Linked DNA regions of Homo sapiens: region 1 is linked to region 2. The links are contacts of gene promoters, found by promoter capture Hi-C in human tissues and cell types (Jung and others, 2019). All regions are on one chromosome and are shown on one strand. Each heading gives the region's core, a stretch centred on a gene start or on the middle of the fragment in contact. The rest is flanking DNA. Distances are from core to core; before and after follow the strand shown. Region 1 overlaps HPSE2 (heparanase 2 (inactive)). Region 2 holds the start of HPSE2 (heparanase 2 (inactive)).

Evidence for each region. Contacts are between HindIII fragments. The study calls those that stand out against the background at their distance.
Region 1: a contact is called between a fragment that was not itself captured here and the fragment with the promoter of HPSE2 in region 2, in 2 of the 25 tissues and cell types used here (bladder and lymphoblastoid cells).

Annotation. Positions count from the first base shown.
Region 1 is chr10:98,819,137-98,821,836 of GRCh38, reverse strand. The region is part of intron 3 of HPSE2 (heparanase 2 (inactive)); the gene reads left to right. Among named protein-coding and RNA genes, the nearest start is that of MIR6507, 100 kb to the left of the region's middle. The HindIII fragment of the contact is 7,751 bases long and covers 1-2,700 here.
Region 2 is chr10:99,234,495-99,237,194 of GRCh38, reverse strand. It overlaps HPSE2 (heparanase 2 (inactive)), which reads left to right and starts at 1,343. Exons shown (of 12, transcript NM_021828.5): 1 at 1,343-1,682. The coding sequence starts at 1,393. RefSeq lists enhancers at 1-265, 266-766. The HindIII fragment of the contact is 13,698 bases long and covers 1-2,700 here.

The DNA of each region.
Region 1 (2,700 bases), core at 41-2,540, 420 kb after region 2:
CAAGTCGTTTTTCTTAGCCTTTCTAATTTAGAGTGCCCAGAAATTTTGATTATAGCCAAGGCAGAGGGAAGTTGAATTGAATTTAATAAATTATTGACAAAAGTTCCATTTTTAATTTGGTTCCCTCTGGAGGTTAAAAATCCTTTTTGTTTCCAAAGCACACCAAAATCACGAACAACCCCAAAGGCGTAACGGCTGTTGGTGTAAACGTTTGCAGTTTTATTTTCACCAGAATATAAGCCCTGATTAAGGCATAAAGTTCTGCTTGTTGGGCTGAAGTAGCCATCAGCAGTGCAGCTTCTTCAACTATAGTCACGTGCTGCATGTAGTCATGTGCTGCACATTTTTGTCAACTGACCACATATATGACAGTGTCCCATAATTGTAATACCTTATTTTTACTGTACCTTTTCTATGTTGAGATATGTTTAAATATACAAATACTTAGCATCATGCTATAATTACCTACAGTATTTAGTACAGTAATATGCTATACAGGTTTTTAGCCTAGGAGCAGTAGGCAATATCATATAACTAGGTATGTAGAAGCCTAGGTTTAAGTATACTCTATAATATTCTGTTCATACAATGATGAAATTACCCAACAATGCACTTCTCAGAATGTATTCCCGTACTTAAGAGATGCATGTCTGTACTTCAAGAAAAGTTATAGTATATCTAGCACAATATTCTCCTATATTTTAATCTGTCATTTATGATGTGTCAGTAAACCATGAAAGTTCTGTATTTGGTCTAGGAATTTCATGTAAATTGACTTTAGGTTTTAGCTGGCCACTTAGATTTGAACAGTCATGATGTGTCTCATCAACAGGTAGGGGAAGGAGGGTTACTGGATTAAGAGTATTGCAGTGAGAAAGAATGTGAGAAATCAACAGCAAGATCTCATAAGAAGTTAGTCTGCTCAGAATAATACTGAGTATGATGAGAGTTCTCTACGGTTTCTACAAAGCTTCTACAGCATGAAGAACATAGACAGTGAGAGTAGAGTTCGTGATTATCTCTTCTGTAGAGTTAATTAAAGCTGTAGTGGCTGATATAGCTGTCATGCAGAGAGGGAGTCAGCTATTGAACCTAATTGCTGGCTATAATAGCCAATGGGTCTGTGTTGAACTCAATGTTTTGGGGTAAAGAACCCCCAACACATTTATTTATTTTTCATGCACAAAAATGAAGAAAGAGAGCTGATGATTGGGGTACCTTAAGGCAGGAAGACTTAGAAATCCTTCTTTTGATAGAAGGCCATACAGGCATTCTCTTTTTAGCCCAGGGGATCTGGGTTGTCAAATTTCTGAAGAGCATATAAGGGTTATGCTATCAAAGGAAAATTAGGTATTCAGTTTTGACAGAACCTGCCAGCCCCTATCTCCTTTGTAATAGTCTCAGTCTGAGATTGAGGAAAGTTTAAATACCATTAAGTCTGTCAGGATCCAAGAGAAGTCCTTGGTTTTATATCATGTATCCCAAATGTTTGACATGGTCCTGGGTAAATTATAGTCTTTCCCTGGAAACTTTGTGGATTTTGTCTGCTAGAAGTTTAAGGAGATGAACATAATCATGTTCACAAGGAACAAAGAAGGAGGTCATCAACATACTGCAAGAGAGTCAATCCTTGGGGGAAAGACATGTCTGTTAAATATGTCTTCAGTATCTGAAAAGTAGGGAGGGCTTTTGGTATACCCTCAAGACATTACTATCTAGGTATATTGTTGACTTTCCTACGTGAAGACAAATAAAATTTGACTCCCAGTGTCCACATGAATGCTTTTTTTAAAAAAGTAATATAAAAGTATGTCACTATAAAATTTACATTCTGTGAGGATGGAAGTCATGAGAGTATGGAGATTTGGAATGACAGGGTGTCAAAGAGTGACAATATTATTAATGTTTCATAGGTCTTGTATAAATCTCCATCCATGTCCATGAGATGTCTTTATAGGAAGGTTAGGAGTACTACAGGGGCTAGTACTAGGCGCCACAAGATTCCTAGCTTTACATTCTTCTGTAATTGGCTTAATTTCTGCAGAAGTTTCAGGATTTAAGGAGTATTGTCTGATATTAGGAAGGGGCTTGTTTGGGTCAATTTGAGTCTTTATCAGGAGAGCCCAGTGGATTTGTCCAATGTCTGTTGTAGATTTATCCAAAACTTCCTCAAAAAGCTCTTTTAAAAAGAATTAAACTGTCAACATTTTCATTATTTAGGTTAAAGACAAAAGTAGGCAAGAGTGTTGAAGAATTTTCACTGTTGTCAGTTAAAGGTGATGGGGATGTAAATCAGCTTTAAGAATTATCTTACCCTTATGGGAAAAGGTAATGGCCACATGATGTTTTCCTAAGAAGTCCCTTCCAAGTAAGTGAACTGGGGCCAAGAGAACTGGTTAAAAAAAAAAAAAAAAAGAATGATTGTAGAACCTAATTGAAAAAGCAAGGGGAAAGATTTGTAAACTGTTAAAGGTATATTAGAAACTCCTACCATTTGCATTTTTTTTCAGTACTTCAAGGAAGGAACTGGTTGAGGCTGATGAGTGTCAAATACAGAGGATTGCCCCAGTGTTGATAAGGACAGTGAGAATCTCCTTTCTGATCATGACAGGGGTTGCACCCAAATGATTAAGAGACAAGATTGAAAGATCGCCTGTAGGTTTTTTGGAGCACCCTCAGTCTATAAGGAACATAGAGGGT
Region 2 (2,700 bases), core at 94-2,593:
AGAAGCCGAAAGTGGGGCCCAGCAATGTGACTGCAGCAAACTGTGCCTGATCCCTTTCCCGCGCTTCAGGATAGGACCTAGAGTTCAATTTGCAAGCTGTTGTGGGGTGGAAGCTCAATGAGCAGCGGCGGGTCGTGCATCACAGCGGCTTCCGGCTGTTATTCCCCATCCAGGGCTATGTGACTCTGGTTTTGACTGGGGGCCGAGATGGAAACCCGAAAGTGTCACTATGGTCCCATCTGGCACTGTAAAGGCGCACTTCCCTGCAGGAGGGCTAAGTATAGGATTGACCTCCAGGAGGGTCTGGAGGGGGGACTCTACCTGTGCAGCAGAATAGAGTGGCCAAGAAGTGGCACAGTTGGACGCAGAGCCGCCCTGACTATCCAAGCACAGCTCAGGTAGCTTCGACTTGGCCAAAGCCAGCATGTATTGACGCTCCCAAGACGCTTATTCCTCGGTTGCGGGAAGAGCAGAGCAGAGCGAGGGCGCATGTCCCTTTTGGCCCTCGGATCGGAAAAGCTGCTTGACCAGGTCACTATGTTTTTCCTTCTTGCTACTCTTTGCCCTATGGAGGTCAGAGGATGCTTCGGTGTGGCTATCCAACGCGTCACAGAGATCAGGGCTCCTCTTCGGGGAATGTCCTTCAGGGCTCTATGCTTTGACAGGAATCACCGCCTCAAGACCCCTCTGCAACTTAACCGCCCTTGGTATTGCTGCTTCAACCAGAAAAGGGCCCTGAGCGGACGAAGTGCCTGACGCTGTCAGGAGAAACAAGCGTGCTGTCGGTGGGAACTCTATCCCAGCGCGTCCCGGGTTGGCGCTGGGGCTTTCGGGTCGGAGTCGGAGCTTGAACCGCCCTCCAGAGCCTCTCAGGGAAGGACGTAAAAACGAGACCCTTTGCTCTGTACCCAGACGGTACAACGGCATGGTTTGGATTCCTCCCTCTGCTTCCTGACCCTAGAGGGTTAAATTAGGAGGGTACAACGCCACCCTTTTCTCCTCCTTCCCGCCTGCTCCCCTCCCCTTACCTTTAAAAAGTTAAAAAATGTCTGCAGTAGAAATCTCTTAAAGGGGCGGTGCCGGTGTACGAGTTCTCTTGGCAAGAGTCACGGGGAAGGCTGGCTAGGGGCGTGAGTTCGCTCCACCAGCACCAAAACACTGAAAAAAAAAATTAAAAAAAATTAAAAAAAAAAAAGAAAAAAACAAAACGAGCGAGCGAGCGAGCGAGAGAGAGAGAGAGCGGGAGAGAGAGAGAGTGTGTGTGTGTTGGGGGGGTGGTGGGAGGAAGGGAAAAAAAGGGGGGAAAAAGGCGGACAGACACACACTTTAGATAAGGACAATTAGTCACTAGCGAGACCCAGTAGGAAGAGAGGTTTAAATCAGAGGGATTGAATGAGGGTGCTTTGTGCCTTCCCTGAAGCCATGCCCTCCAGCAACTCCCGCCCCCCCGCGTGCCTAGCCCCGGGGGCTCTCTACTTGGCTCTGTTGCTCCATCTCTCCCTTTCCTCCCAGGCTGGAGACAGGAGACCCTTGCCTGTAGACAGAGCTGCAGGTTTGAAGGAAAAGACCCTGATTCTACTTGATGTGAGCACCAAGAACCCAGTCAGGACAGTCAATGAGAACTTCCTCTCTCTGCAGCTGGATCCGTCCATCATTCATGATGGCTGGCTCGATTTCCTAAGGTAAGGCAGGGGTTTCGATGGATCATTTAAAATTTTTTAGTAACACCCCCTCAAGCCCTTCCTATCCCCCATTCCAAAGGGGAAAGAAGAAAATAAGCCAAGCAGATCTCTCAAAGAGAAGAAAAGAGGTTTTCCTTCTCCTGGATTGTGTGCTGTGAGGCTGTAACTAGTGATTGAGAAAAGCAATGTTTTCTATTAAGATGCACATGTTTGCAATGCAGAAGGCATTTCAGAAACTTATCAGTTATGACTGAAAAAATGTTGTGCTTACATATATCCACAATTAGCCTTCCCGTCTACTTCTGAAAAAGAAACAAGAGGTTCAGAGCAGTTACAAAAGCGAAGAAAAGGTCTCAAACAACAAAGAGCTGAAAGGAATGGGTATGTGTGTGTGTGTGTGTGTGTGTGTGTATGTGAGACAGGAGAGTGTGTGTGTGTGAGTGTTCAAGCGGGATTGCACGAAACTGGAATTTTCCACGGAAAGATCGTTTCGTCAGTTCTCTCCCACTCTCAGAAAACGAATTTAAGCAGAGGCTTGAGTGGTGGGCAAGTTGGATCGGAGTTAAAATTTTTTATTTTATATCCTCCGCTGTCATTTCCAGACTTCAGGACTTTGTAAGGCGCTTTTTATAGACGGAATGCCCCCCTCCCCCCGCCAGTTCCTCCTCCTTAAATCTCCTGCGGTAACTGCACAGTTTAGCTTTTCTTTAAAGGAAAAAAAAAATCCTCGCTGGGGTCACAGCGTTATAAGGGAAGCGGTAAGAGTCCTAGAAATACTCCAGGGAGGCTTCGGAGATCTGAACTCCGCACCAGCAGATTAGCAAACCCGGAGGTTTGTGATCCCCTTTGCTCTAGGGCTTGTAATCTAATTGGGCTCACACTCTTCCCGGGTTGTTGCAGTTTGGCAGTTAGGCAACTGCGATCCCTTCCCATCAGGGACAGAGTTGCAGTGTAAAATAAGAAATAAATCCTCTGCAATGTCGAATCCAAGTGTTGAGTTTTTAAAAATTCCCTACAA